Regions from separate parts of the Homo sapiens genome. Here regions 2 and 3 are each linked to region 1. The links are contacts of gene promoters, found by promoter capture Hi-C in human tissues and cell types (Jung and others, 2019). All regions are on one chromosome and are shown on one strand. The core of a region is centred on a gene start or on the middle of the fragment in contact, and the rest is flanking DNA. Distances in the headings are between cores, read along the strand shown. Region 1 holds the start of DIS3L2 (DIS3 like 3'-5' exoribonuclease 2). Region 2 overlaps DIS3L2 (DIS3 like 3'-5' exoribonuclease 2). Region 3 overlaps DIS3L2 (DIS3 like 3'-5' exoribonuclease 2).

What was found. The method cuts DNA at HindIII sites, captures the fragments that hold promoters and counts their contacts. A contact is called where the count stands out against the background at its distance.
Region 2: a contact is called between a fragment that was not itself captured here and the fragment with the promoter of DIS3L2 in region 1, in 4 of the 25 tissues and cell types used here (aorta, hippocampus, lymphoblastoid cells and 1 more).
Region 3: a contact is called between a fragment that was not itself captured here and the fragment with the promoter of DIS3L2 in region 1, in 2 of the 25 tissues and cell types used here (bladder and mesenchymal stem cells).

Annotation. Positions count from the first base shown.
Region 1 is chr2:231,959,547-231,964,011 of GRCh38, forward strand. DIS3L2 (DIS3 like 3'-5' exoribonuclease 2) reads left to right here and starts at 2,167. Exons shown (of 21, transcript NM_152383.5): 1 at 2,167-2,219. RefSeq lists an enhancer at 2,045-2,134 and a silencer at 2,265-2,424. The HindIII fragment of the contact is 18,963 bases long and covers 1-4,465 here.
Region 2 is chr2:232,070,740-232,075,204 of GRCh38, forward strand. All of the region lies in intron 5 of DIS3L2 (DIS3 like 3'-5' exoribonuclease 2), which reads left to right. Among named protein-coding and RNA genes, the nearest start is that of MIR562, 100 kb to the right of the region's middle. The HindIII fragment of the contact is 9,302 bases long and covers 1-4,465 here.
Region 3 is chr2:232,050,068-232,054,532 of GRCh38, forward strand. The region is part of intron 5 of DIS3L2 (DIS3 like 3'-5' exoribonuclease 2); the gene reads left to right. Among named protein-coding and RNA genes, the nearest start is that of DIS3L2, 91 kb to the left of the region's middle. The HindIII fragment of the contact is 4,683 bases long and covers 1-4,420 here.

The sequences.
Region 1 (4,465 bases), core at 917-3,416:
ATCTAGGCTCACTGCAACCTCCACCTCCCAGGTTCAAGCAGTTCTCCTGCCTCAGCCTCCCGAGTAGCTGAGGCTACAGGCCCCCACCACCATGCCTGGCTAATTTTTTGTATTTTTAGTAGAGACAGGTTTTCACCATGTTGGCCAGGCTGGTCTCGAACTCCTGACCTCAAGTGATCAGCCCGCCTTGGCCTCCCAAAGTGCTGGGATTATAGTCATGAGCCACTGCATCCGGCCACAGATTTTATTTCAATCCTTTGTTCTCTTCCTCTTCTAGGTCTTCCCCTTCCTGTCCCCACTGGCCCCTCTCCTATCCACTGAATCCCTGGATGCCTGACACCCTCTGCCTCCTGTCCTTGCTGGGTTTCCTCTACCCTCTACATTTCAAAGACAAGTTTTGCTGAAATCACAGTTTTCCTGAGGGTTCTAGAAAGGTCTGTGTGAACATTAAAAAACAAAGGTTCCTTGGGTTCATTTAGTCTTTAAGCAAACATCGATTGAGGCCTGTGTGTGTGGCAGGTACTGCAGATGCAAAGTTTTCCACCTTCATGGAGCTCATAGTTACTAAGGGAAACCCTGAATTTTCTTAGACTACTGCAACGCACTGGCCGGGTGCGGTGACTCACACCTGTAATCCCAGCACTTTGGGACAAGATGGGCGGAAGAGTGAGACCATCCTGGCTAACACGGTGAAACCCCGTCTCTACTAAAAATACAAAAATTAGCCGAGAGTGGTGGCACGCGCCTGTAGTCCCAGCTACTCGGGACTGAGGCAGGAGAACTGCTTGAACCCAGGAGGCGGAGGTTGCAGTGAGCCGAGATCGCACCATTGCACTCCAGCCTGGGCGACAGAGCGATAGTCCGTCTCAAAAAAAAAAAAAAAAAAAAAAAGAGAAATATAGGCACAATTTAATGCATCTCTTTTCCTTTTTCAATATGGAGCATACGGTGGTTCAAGCATCTGTCCACATTGTATTCCCGAAGTTTGATCCCTACCCTGCCCTGCCCTCCCGTCTTTCCTTCCCTCTCTCTTTTTTTTTTTCTGGAGTGCAATGGTGCGATCTCGGCTCACTGCAACCTCCGCCTCCGGGGTTAAAGCGATTCACCAGCCTCAGCCTCCTGAGTAGCTGGGATTACAGGCATGTGCCACCACGTCTGGCTAATTTATTATTTTTAATAGGGACGGGGTTTCTCCATGTTGATCAGGCTGGTCTCGAACTCCCGACCTCAGGTGATCCGCCCGCCTCGGCCTCCCAAAGGGAAGTTTGATTTTTCTATGGTCACCAATGGACACTTGATCTCCATAGCTTGAGAATGGCGGCCATCCCCTCACTGGCATTCTTTCCTCTTGTGCTCTCCCGAACGTTCTGGCTGCTCTTTGGATTTCCTTTTCCTTTGCTCACATCTACAATATTGGTGTTTCCTAGGTCCCGTACTTAACGATTGTTTCCTCTCAACACGCTTCCCTGGGCGGGCTGAACTGTCGGGGGCTTTCTCGGCTGCGCTTCCTCTCTCACCTGAAACCCTCTTCCCAACCCTTTATACTAGGTCGACGTCTCCAACATCAGCTGCTCCCCACCCGTGTCTGGGTGGGCCCCTTGGGCAGGCTCCCCTAGTCTCCTTTCCTTCGATCATCCCCACGTGCAGGACGTCATCTGCTTGCTCTGCCATCAGCCTCACATCCTGAGGGCAGGGACCATGCGGGGGTTGTCCATCTCTGTATCCCCAGTGCCAGCACTGCACCTCGCCCCAAGCAGTTGTCCAATAAATGAGCAGTGAGTAAATGAAAGAATGAGCAAAGCCTTGTAACAGGAAAGGGGCCGGCGGCGTCTGCCGTGCAAGACCTGGCCCAGTGGAGCAGAGCCTGGAGGTTCAGGAGCCGGGTCTGGAAGGCTCCTTCCGGTGGAAGAGGGGCCCGGAGCCAGCCGGCGCCTGGCACAAGGCGTCTCAGAGGCCGCCCACTGGGAGCCAACCGTTGCAGCCAGTTGTCCCCGCGAGCGAGGCCGGAGAAGGCGCGGCGGCCCCTGGCCTGGCCATTTCGCCCTTGTCGCAGCTGAACCGCCGACTACGAGCTCCTGCACCGCGCACACACCCCGCGCGCTTCGCTCTCGGCCTCGCCCGGCCACCGTCGCTCTCTAGAACGCCGCGCCCGTGACCCGGAAGAGCATTCTCCTTAGCAACTGCGGGACTGCGGCGGCGCCGGCCTCCGGGGAGAAACGGTGAGGCCCTCACTCGCCTGCCCCCTGCACCGCCTAGTGCTGCACGACCCCCTCGGGACCGACCCGGGGTCTGGCCTCTGGGGGGCTCCGCGGCGCTTCGCCCGGCACCTGTGGTGGCGGCCCGGGACGAGCGTCTTCCGCCTCTGGCGTTGCTCCCCGGCCCACGCGTCTTCCCTGTCCCGCATCTCCCTCAATGTCCCCAGCTCCCCACTCTCCGCTCCTGACCGACCCGGCCTCCCAGGCCGCGCTTATAGCGCCGGGGCCCTTGTAGCCTAGGATGGCGTGAGGGGAGCGAGACCAGAATTAGAGCCTGTTGCTGTAGAGAGGACGCCTCCCGAGGCTCGGGTCACCTGTGGACGCGTTCTCTAGGGTCTTGATCGAGATGTTCAGGACTGGCAGGGATGGGGAGCCTCGGGAATCTTGAAGGGCAGCCGCTTAATTATAACATGTCCTTGACGTTTGCGCTTTCCACAGTGATACACTTTATCTCCTTTATTGATCATAGAGAGTTTTTTTTTTTAATAAACTTTTAGATATGGGGGATACGCATGCAGGTTAGTCACATGGGTATATTGCACCCAGGTATTGAGCATAGAACCCAGTAGGTAGTTTTTCAACCCACATCCCCCATCTCTCCCCTCCTTCCAGTAGTCTACAGTGTCTACCGTTACCTTTTTTTTTTTTTTTTGAGACGGAGTCTCATTCTGTCGCCCAGGCTGGAGTGCAGTGGCGCGATTCGGCTCACTGCAAGCTCCGCCTCCTGGGTTCATGCCATTCTTCTGCCTCAGCCTCCCGAGTAGCTGGGACTACAGGCGCCCGCCACCCCGCCCGGCTAATTTTTTTGTATTTTTAGTAGAGACGGGGTTTCACCATGTTAGTCAGGATGGTCTCGATCTCTTGACCTCGTGATCCGCCCGCCTTGGCCTCCCAAAGTGCTAGGATTACAGGCGTGAGCCACCGCACCCGGCCGACTGTTCCCATGTTTATGTCCATGTGCGCTCAATGTTTCTACTCCCACTTGTAAGTGTGCTCAATGTTTAGCTCCCACTTATAAGTGAGAACGTGTGGTGTTTAGTTTTCTGTTCTTGTGCTAATTCGTTTAGGATTATGGCCTCCAGCTCCATCTGTGCTGCTGTAAAGGACATGATATCTTCCTTTTTTGTGGCTGCATAGTATTCCATCCTGTACATCCACATTTTTTTTTTCCAGTCCACCATTGATGGTCACCTAGGTTGATTCCGTGTGTTTGCTATTGTGAATAGCTCAGCCGTGAACATACAACTGCATATGTCTTTTTGGTATAATGGTCTGTTTTCCTTTGGTTATATACCCAACAGTGGGATTGCTGGGTGAAATGGTGGCTCTTTAAGTTCTTTGAGAAATCTCCAAACTGCTTTCCACAGTGGCTGAACTAATTTACATTCCCACCAACAGTAGTTTAAATGTTCCCTTTCCAAGGGAGCCTAATGAGGATCTGTTGTTTTTTGACTTTTTGATAATAGCCATTCTGACTGGTGTGAGATGGTATTTCATTGTGGTTTTGATTGGCATTTCTCTGATAATTAGTCATGATCATGTTTTCCATATATTTGTTGGCTGCTTGTATGTCGTGGTTTTTTCTTTTTGTATTTCTTCTGAGAAGTGTTCATGTCCTTTGGCCATTTTTAAAAATGGGCTTATTTGTTTTTTGCTTGTTGATTTAAGTTCCATAGGGATTCTGGATATTGGACCTTTGTCAGATGCATAGTTTGTGAATATTCTCGCCCATTTTGTAGGTTGTCTGTTTAATCTGTTGATAATTTCTTTTGCTGTGCAGAAGCTCTAGTTTAATTAGTTCCAACTTGTCAATTTTTGTTTTTGCTGCAGTTGCTTATGGGGACTTAGCCAAAAATTTGCCAAGGTCAGTGTCAAGAAGTGTATTTCCTGGGTTTTCTTCTAGGATTTTTATAGCTTGAGGTCTTTTATTTTATTTTGAGACAGGGTCTCACTGTCACCCAGGCTGGAGTGCAGTAGCGTGACTGCAGCTCACTGCAGCCTCGATTTCCCAGGCTCAAGTGATCCTCCCACCTCAGCCTCCCGAGTAGCTGAGACTACAGGTGCGCACTACCACGTTCGGCTAATTTTTGTATTTTTTATGGAGATGTGGTTTTTACCATGTTGTCAGGCTGGTCTCTGACTCCTAGGCTCAAAAGATCTGCCTGCCTCAGTTGCCCAAAGTGCTGGAATTACAGGCATGAGCTACTGTG
Region 2 (4,465 bases), core at 1,294-3,793, 110 kb after region 1:
ACACCCAGCTAACGTTTGTATTTTTAGTAGAGACAGGGTTTCACCATGTTGGCCAGGATGGTCTCGATCTCTTGACCTTGTGATCTGCCCCCCTCGGCCTCCCAAAGTGTGGAATTACAGGCGTGAGCCACTGCGCCCAGCCAGGTTATGGTTCTTTAGTTGATTGTGGTGGCCATGCAGGAGAGGAGAGAGGGCACATGTTACAGAACACTTCTAATTCTGATTCAAACATGGGAACAGTGTCCAGAGGCCCTATAGCCTGACCCTTAGATCTCTGAACTCTTCTTCTCCTGCAGTCCAAGCCAGGTCTGCATAGAGGAGGGCTCCTTAACGGGTGCTGATTATTTCTCCAAATCTATTTTTCTTTTTTTTCTTAAAAGAGTTAAAACATAATTCAGCCATTTTTAAAGGGAGTTAATATAGTTTTCTGTACTGTATCACAAAGAATCAGAAAGAGAGAGACAGATCCTGCTGTTCTGAGTTGTTAGAGACCTATTCTTGGCTCGCTGTGGTGGCTCTTGCCTATAATCCCAGCACTTTGGGAGGCTGAGGCAGGAGGATCTTGAGAACCCAGGAGTTCTAGACCAGCCTGGGCAACATAGTGACCCTGTCTCTACAAAAAATAAAGAAAAGGTAGCCAGGCATGTTGGTGTATGCTGGTAGTCCCAGCTGTTCGGGAGGCTGAGGTGGGAGGATAGCTTGAGCCTGGGAGGTCGAGGCTGCAGTGAGCTGTGATCACACTAGTGCACTCCACCCTGGGCAACAGAGTGAGACCCTGTCTCAAAAAAAAGAAAAAAAAAAAAGAAACCTGTTATTGAGCTGGTGGGATTTAACCCAAGACAGAGTTTGCAGTGGTCTGTGAATGGTGTATAATGGAAGGAAATGGCAGATAAGATTAAAATAACTGAAAAAGGTCAGTGGACATTGAGAAAGTCAAGGTCTTGTAAGCCAAAGAATAGAGAAGTAGTTTCTCTTTTTAAAATAGAGACGAGGTCTCACTATGTTGCCCAGGTTGGTCTCAAACTCCTGGGCTCAAGCAGTCCTCCACCTTGGCCTCCCAAAATGCTGGGATTATAGACATGAGCCACTGTACCTGGCTGATAAGTAGTTTCTCTAGGAAAGAGAAACCCATGGGAATGTTTTTGAATAAGAGGATAATCAGAATTTTTATTTCTGGAGATTTGTAGGGTGGTGTCACTTAGAAGACCAGGGAATTTGTGGAGCTCTAAGATTGCTTGTAAAAAGGTAAGTGAAGGATTTGGTGACTGGTATGTTAAGCAGTGGGAAGAGTCAAATGTAGTTGCAAGGTTTTCAGCTTGAGTGGCCTGGAAGAAGTAGTAGTGGTGTTTGAAGAAAGAGAAGAACAGGAAAGGGAAATGCTTTGAGGGGAAGGACCAGAGTGCTTTTGATGTTTTGAGTTTCAGGTGGCAGTGGCCTTCATGGAGTTTGTGTTGCACTGGGAAAGATATAATAATATTAAATAAAATACTACATGTAGCATACTCAATGGTGATATGTGCTGAAGAGAAAAAAAATAAGGAAAGGAAATATGATTTTGGGGGATAAGGATTGAGATTTTAAATAGGGTGATGAAAGAAGACCTCATTGAGAGCATGACTTTGGGAAGAAACAAAGGAAGAGAGGAAGCTGTCCTTATGGAGATCTTGGGGAATGGCAGTGCGTTCCTAGTGTGCTCAAGGAATAGCAAAGGGGCTGAGGTAGAGAATTGTCAGAGACGAGGTCGGAGGGATCCGGGGTGGGGGTGCAGTCAGGTAGAGCCTTTACATCATAGGTAGGATTCTGTTTCTGGCTCTGATTGAAGTGGTAAGGCTTAGAGTGGTAGGAGTAGAGAACTGACATATCACTTATGTTTCATAGGCTCACTCTGTTATGTTGGGAATAGACTGAAAGGAGGCAAGGGTAGAAGCAGGGAGACCCCTTACATGGCTATTGCTTACTTCCAGGATGGAGATGATGGAGACTAAACCAGGATGGTGGCAATGAAGGTAGAGCTGACAAGATCAGCTGACAGTTGGGATGTGGGGTGTGTGTGTGTGTGTGTGTGTGTGTGTGTGTGTGTTGCTGTGTGTTTGAGAGAAGGGGAGGTTGAGGTGGGGTGGGGAAGGAAGTCGAATGATTGATTGATAAGGACTGCACAGGGATTTTGGGCTGAGTAATTGGAAGAATGGAGAGAGATTGTTCATTCTTTGGCTGTTAACTAGATAAAAGGTACGTTTGGATTAGCTACCCTAAGCAAACGAAGTTCCCAACAAATACGCCCTTGAAAATGTCTGTAAATATGTCTTTTAAATGATAGTGCCCATAGTTAAATTTTATAATGAAAAGCTTATTGGCAAGCCTTGTCAAGAGCTCCCTGTGGAAATATCAGTTGCTTTTCTTGGCTTCAAGGTGTTTCCTGAACAGTGTATTATCCTTTGTCCCGAGTGTGCCATTAAGGGATTTGAAAGTTTGTTAAAACATGTGTGGCAAGTGAGTGCTGTCATTTAAGCCTAGCCAGGGAAGCCAAGAAATGAAAAGCAGCTCTTTGCTGGACTTCCTGACATGCTTTAGCTCTGAATCCGAGGCTCAGGTAGTGGGGTGGACAGGGCATTATTTCCTGTGCACAAAGTGTCAGTGGACACAGTTCTCAAGCCATTTCCGCGGAAAATGTCTGTGGACATGGGTATATGTGAATCTTTTGGAAAAACTCCATAATACCAAGTTGATAGCAACCCCCTGCCTAAGGAGAATGTAATAGGGTTTATTTGCTGCAACAGAATTTTCCAGTGCTAATATGGACTTGCTCTTTTTATAAGATTTAAAACAGCACTCTTTAATGATGGTCTTTGAGCTCGAGGAAAGGTTTTTTCTATATCAGTAAACAGGGAAGCTATGAAATGTTTCATGCTTGGAGTTCGGGTGAGCCAGCATAATGGAAAGGTTACCTGGCACTTTTATTTAGGATTCCATTAGAATTTTTTGGTTACAGGGACTTTTTCTGTTTGCTTTTCAATTTTGAAATACGGTATATTGATTTTAAAAGGAAGGGAAGAAAAACCTAATGCACATCAAACAGTTTTGAAGTGACCAGTTTCTTCTCTAGATCCTGGTAGGTTTGAATTGCTGTTTGCAACTGATCTAACTTACTACACAGCGTAGACGAGATTTCCAGCTTTCTGAGTGACAGATTGCTACTTCACAACTCTGGAAAGATCAGGAAATGTCCCTCTGAGGTGTTGCCAGATCTAGGCTTTCTTTCCTTCATCTGGACATTTGTGACTTTTCTTGCTAAGACACTTCTTTTCAAGTTGGGGAGCAGTTAACTTTATGGTTATATTTGCATTTATATTGAAAACTGGAGTTATAATTTAGATATAAAGGCATAGAATTATTTTAGAAAAATGAATTTATTTCAGTGCCTCCCAATTTTATTCATTTGCATTTATTTATCTTGTATCTCTTACAGTGATAAGTTTCAATTTTGATGAAATAATTGTTGACTATTTCCTGGTTTCCAGACACATTGTGTTAATGGAGGACATTGCTGTATCATGAAGTATCTTATGGACATGCATTTTAATTTAGCTGGCTCTTGCTGCTTAGTATTTATTTCTCACTATTTTTTGCAAATGCTTCTTTTACAGCTGATTCAAGTCTTTCTCATTCTCTTCAGAAGAAGAGAAAAGAGAATCAATATTTACTGAGCACATTCTATGTGCCATGGATCATGGGAGACTCTCAGAAATATAAAAATGAATGTAATGTGGTTTACTGTCTAGTGGAAGAAAAAATATGCAAACAAATAAATGAAATATAGCCCCATCAAGGAACCTTTTTTTTTTTTTTTTTTTTGCTTTTGAGAAAGGATCTCGCTCTGTTACCCAGGTTCACCACGTGAGCAGTGACACAATCACAGCTCATTGCAGCCTTGACTTCCTGGGTCCCAATGATCCTTCCTCCTCAGCCTCCCGAGTAGCTGGGACCACAGGCGCATGTCACCATGCCTGGCTAATTTTTTATTTTTGGTAGAGACGGAGTTTTGCCGTGTTGCCCAGGCTGGTCTTGAATTCTTGAGCTCAAGTGATCTGCCTGCCTCGGATTCCCAAAGTGCTGAGATTACAGCTTGAGCCACCACACCTGGCCGAGGAACCGTATAGTGAAAGAATGGCTAAGGACTAGCAGTGCTGCAGAGGAAGGCAACAACATTTAGGCAGAGAGAGAGAAGTTAGCAGATAAACATTCACAGAAGAGCTGGGTCTTGAATTTTGATTATTTGCTAGGCCAACAAAAGGTTCAGAGGCATTTCATGCAATGTGTGTCAGGGATGGGAGCTGTATGGGTGAGGTTCACTCTGAATCTCTTTGTTTTCAACTCCTGTGGATGATTTCCTTCAGTGTCCAGGACTAAGAGAATTGCATTTAGAGTCCTAGACCTGTAGGCACATTACAACTCTGCCATTTAGTAG
Region 3 (4,465 bases), core at 829-3,328, 90 kb after region 1:
TGGTTGTCACTGATTTCCTACCTGTTTTCATTGGTTGTTTGCTTAGTTTTCATTTTCCTGGAGCTTTCTACAGTGATTTAAGACCATTGATTTCCCTTTTCTTTGTAATAACCTCTCATTAGCTCCATGTCCCAGTTCTGTTTCTTCTATTCAGTATGTTTGTTTTTTATTGATTTCTCTCTTTTCTCCACTTAGTTGTAGACATTTCTTTTTTCTTTTTTTGAGACGGAGTCTCGCTCTGTCGCCCAGGCTGTAGTGCAATGGCGTGATTTTGGCTCACTGCAACCTCTGCCTTCCGGGTTCAAGTGATTCTCCTGCCTCAGCCTCCTGAGTAGCTGGGATTATAGGTGCACCACCATGCCCAGCTAATCTTTGTATTTTTTTTTTTTTTTTAGTAGACAGGGTTTCATCATGTTGGCCAGGCTCTCGAACTCCTCACCTCAGGTGTTCCACCCACCTCGGCCTCCCAAAGTGTTGGGATTACAGGCGTGAGCCACTGCACCCGGCCGGTTGTAGACATTTCTTAAGCTTCTAGCCTATGTCCTCTTTTCTTTCTTTACGTTCTTTTCCAGATAGATCTTTATGTAGTTTCCTAGTTTAAACTGACACTTTTATTTGGAGGATTTCCACCATCCATTTGTTTATTCGACATTTTTTGATTGGCAGCTTTGTACGTGGCACTGGCATGGGTCCTGGAGATACAAAGATGAACACACTTTGACTACCCTCGATGAATTTGGAGACCATTGCAGAAATCAGATGTGTAGACAGAGAGCCACATTGCTGTGTGATATGTTTTAACAGAGATCTGAGCACAGAGATGAAGGAGGTGTATGGAGTGGGAGACAATGGCTCTGCCTAAGGGAACTTAAATTTCTTGTAAGAGTGACATTTCAATTGCAGTTGGAAAGGAGAGTTTGCGAAATGAAAATTAAGGGGAGAGGAGAATATTTAAGGCAAGGGAACTGTATGTTTAAAGGAAGAGACGCATGCATTCCTCCCAAGTCTCAACTGGTAAGGGCAGGGGTTTTGTCTTATTTTATTTATATTCATGGTGTTAAGGTAACAACAGGAACCTTTCAAGTTAGATTGGGGTCTCCATTCTAGATCCTTTGTTTACTGGCTCTGGGCTTTAGGGGCCTCACCTATAAATGGTATAAGTTTTTGATAAGGATTAATGAACTGTAATCACCTAAAATAGTGTCTGACAAGTAGTAGGTACTTTTAAAACGTGAGTTTTATTCTTTCATTTTCCTTCTATCTAGCCACCTGTTAACTGGCATACAGTAGGCAGGGAATAGATACTTTTTGAACAATTTCAGTGTTTCCAAACTTCAGAAAAAGGATAGGATTGTTTATTGTGATGTAAACTTTTACGACTAGGAAGACCAAAAACACAGGATGAATTCACTAAATTTAGTGATCTTACAAAGCAGAAACTTGTTTTCTTAAGAACTAGCTTCGGCTGGGCGCGGTGGCTCACGCCTGTAATCCCAGCACTTTGGGAGGCCGAGGCGGGCGGATCACGAGGTCAGGAGATCGAGACCATCCCGGCTAAAACGGTGAAACACCGTCTCTACTAAAAATACAAAAAATTAGCCGGGCGTAGTGGCGGGCGCCTGTAGTCCCAGCTACTTGGGAGGCTGAGGCAGGAGAATGGCGTGAACCCGGGAGGCGGAGCTTGCAGTGAGCCGAGATCCCACCACTGCACTCCAGCCTGGGCGACAGAGCGAGACTCCGTCTCAAAAAAAAAAAAAAAAAAAAAAAAAAAAGAACTAGCTTTGATTGGAAGAGAAAACAAAGCAATGAATCAAGTCAGCTCTGCTGGATGTTTGCACATGGGAGCTGGATAATTCTCCCCCCAAATATAAAAGATTGGATATATTGTTTATAAATGTCTTCTATAATGTTTCTTCATTAATGTTTATAGTTGATTTTGGATTTGTTTTCATCTTAATTTCCTTTTTTTTTTTTGAGATGGAGTTTCCTTCTGTCACCCAGGCTGGAGTGCAGTGGTGCGATTTTGGCTCACTGCAACCTCCGTCTCCTGGTTCAAGCAGTTCTCCTGCCTCAGCCTCCCAAGTAGCTGGGATTACAGATGCCCATCACCATGTCTGGCTAATTTTTTGTATTTTTAGTAGAGACGGGGTTTTGCCGTGTTGGTCAGGCTGGTCTCGAACTCCTGACCTCAGGTGATCCACCTGCCTCGGCTTCCCAAAATGTTGGGATTACAGGCGTGAGCCACTGTGCCCAGCCTCCTTCTTAATTTCTTTTTGTTTACAGAGTTAAATAAACTTGATTGTAGATTTCAGTTGATCCAGGATGGTCTGTTTTCTCCTTGGGGTCTCAAATACAGTAGTTTAACTATTTCTCAGTTAGTACCAGCTCAGACTGGAGTCTTTTAGGTTTTTATTACCAATTACATTCTTATTCCTTTGTATGACATAAAGGCCTTCCATGACCTGCCCTCTTCCCTGTTGGGCAACTCTGTTTCCTTTAGCATACCCTTAATCTTGGGCACCACATACAGAAGGTCTTTGAATGCACCATGCAGCTGCATGCTTACATTTTCTTTTTATACACAGTTTCCTTTGCTTGCAGTTCTCTGCATGTGTCTCTTCCTCTTTCCCCTACTCATCTTTCTAGACTGGTTTCACAGGTTGTTGCCTCTGGGAAGCCTTTCCTTCATATCTTTACAATTGTTATTCAATGCTGCTGTTTTATTGAATTGAAAAATCTTTAGATGTTTTTCACATATTATAGGGCCCTTTATATTGTCTCTGTTCACATTCCAGTGGCATTTGATGTTTTCTTCTGGGTGGTATTTGCATGACCTACTATGAATGACTCCCACTATGTGATGATGTTAAAAATGGCAAGTGCCGTTTGTTGTTGAGTACCTGTTCTGCGTTAGGCACTCTTCTAGGGCTTTGATAACACTGCATGTTGCAGACATAGATTTCTTTGTGAGATGGACTGGACTATAGTATTTCTTTTTCATTCTTCATGTGCTTATTTCTAAATAGACCAGAGCATATTGATTTAATTCATGAGGAGACAATGTCTGGTAACAGATAAAAAGTCAGTTCCTAAATCCAAAGAAAATGAGTAAATTCTTGAACTTGAGTTTTTGTTTATACAACATCTAAACTTCATTTTCAAGGTACTTCTGTTAAGACTATACAGAATTTAGAAAATATGTTGGTGTCAGTTTTATTATTATGTTAAAAGTAGTTTAAAAGTATACTTTTTAAAATAAAAGCAAGGAGAATACTTACATGTCTAAAAGGAAACACTGTTTTTCTATACTACTCTCAACACTGCTGACATCAACTGCATGGATTTTCCACACCAACCAGTTCTCCTCAGACTCTAATTGGGTGTCCTACATTTTAACTCAATCCTGACACTACGCAGAGTTAGCACAGACCCCACAGGTTAAGGGCTTATACCACAAGACTGCCCTCTACCCAGGTGCCAGTCACAGTCCGGGCTGCCTGTACTTCTGACTGGCTATTATTTGGGGATTCCCATGGCCCCCTCAGGTTCAGTAATTTGCTATAATGGTTTATAAAACTCAGGGAAGCATTGACTTATGTTTACCAGTTTATTATAAAGGATATTGCAAAGGATGCAGATGAATAGCCAGATGAAGAGGTACATAGTGCCTCTATGGAGGGGCATGGAGCTGCCACACCCTCTTGAAGTCCTCCACCCTACCAGCACCTCTCTGTGTTTACCAACCCTGAAGCTTTCTGAACTCATTTATGGTTTTTATGGAGGCCACATTACACAGGGATGATTGATTAAATCATTGGCCATTGAACTCAATCTCCAGCCCCTCGTCCCTTTCTGGAGGTCAGGGGGTGGGGCTGAAAGTTCCAACCCTCTAATCACATGATTCATTCTCTGGCAGCTGGCCCCATCCTCCAAGAGTCCCTCATTAGCATAAACTGAGGTATGTTCGAAAAGGGCTTATTACCAATAACAAAAGATGCTCCTCTCACCCCATCACTAAGAAAATTCCTGGGGTTTTTAGGAGCTCTGTATTAGGAACTGGGGATGAAGAACACATTTATATTTTTTAATTATATCATAATATGACAGTATCAGTGTTTCTTTTCTTCTTCAGTGATGCGACAATTCATTCAACAAATATTATTTTGGACATCTACTGTGTACCAGATAAGAGAACATATCATTGAATATAACATAGTGTACTGTCCTCATGGAACATACAGAAAGTTTATATTGTCTGTTAGGCCAAAATGGATCCATAGAGGCTTATTTTCAAAACCTATTCTGTCTTTATTTAAGAACCATAGAAGATTTAAATAATACTTTAACATTTGGAAACTATTTTAACAAATGCAAAAGCCAGAAGTGATTTTTACCTTTTTCTAATTTGAAAGGAAAATTTTTTTCTTTTAGCAGAGACCTCTAAATTCATTAGGGAAAGAACAAC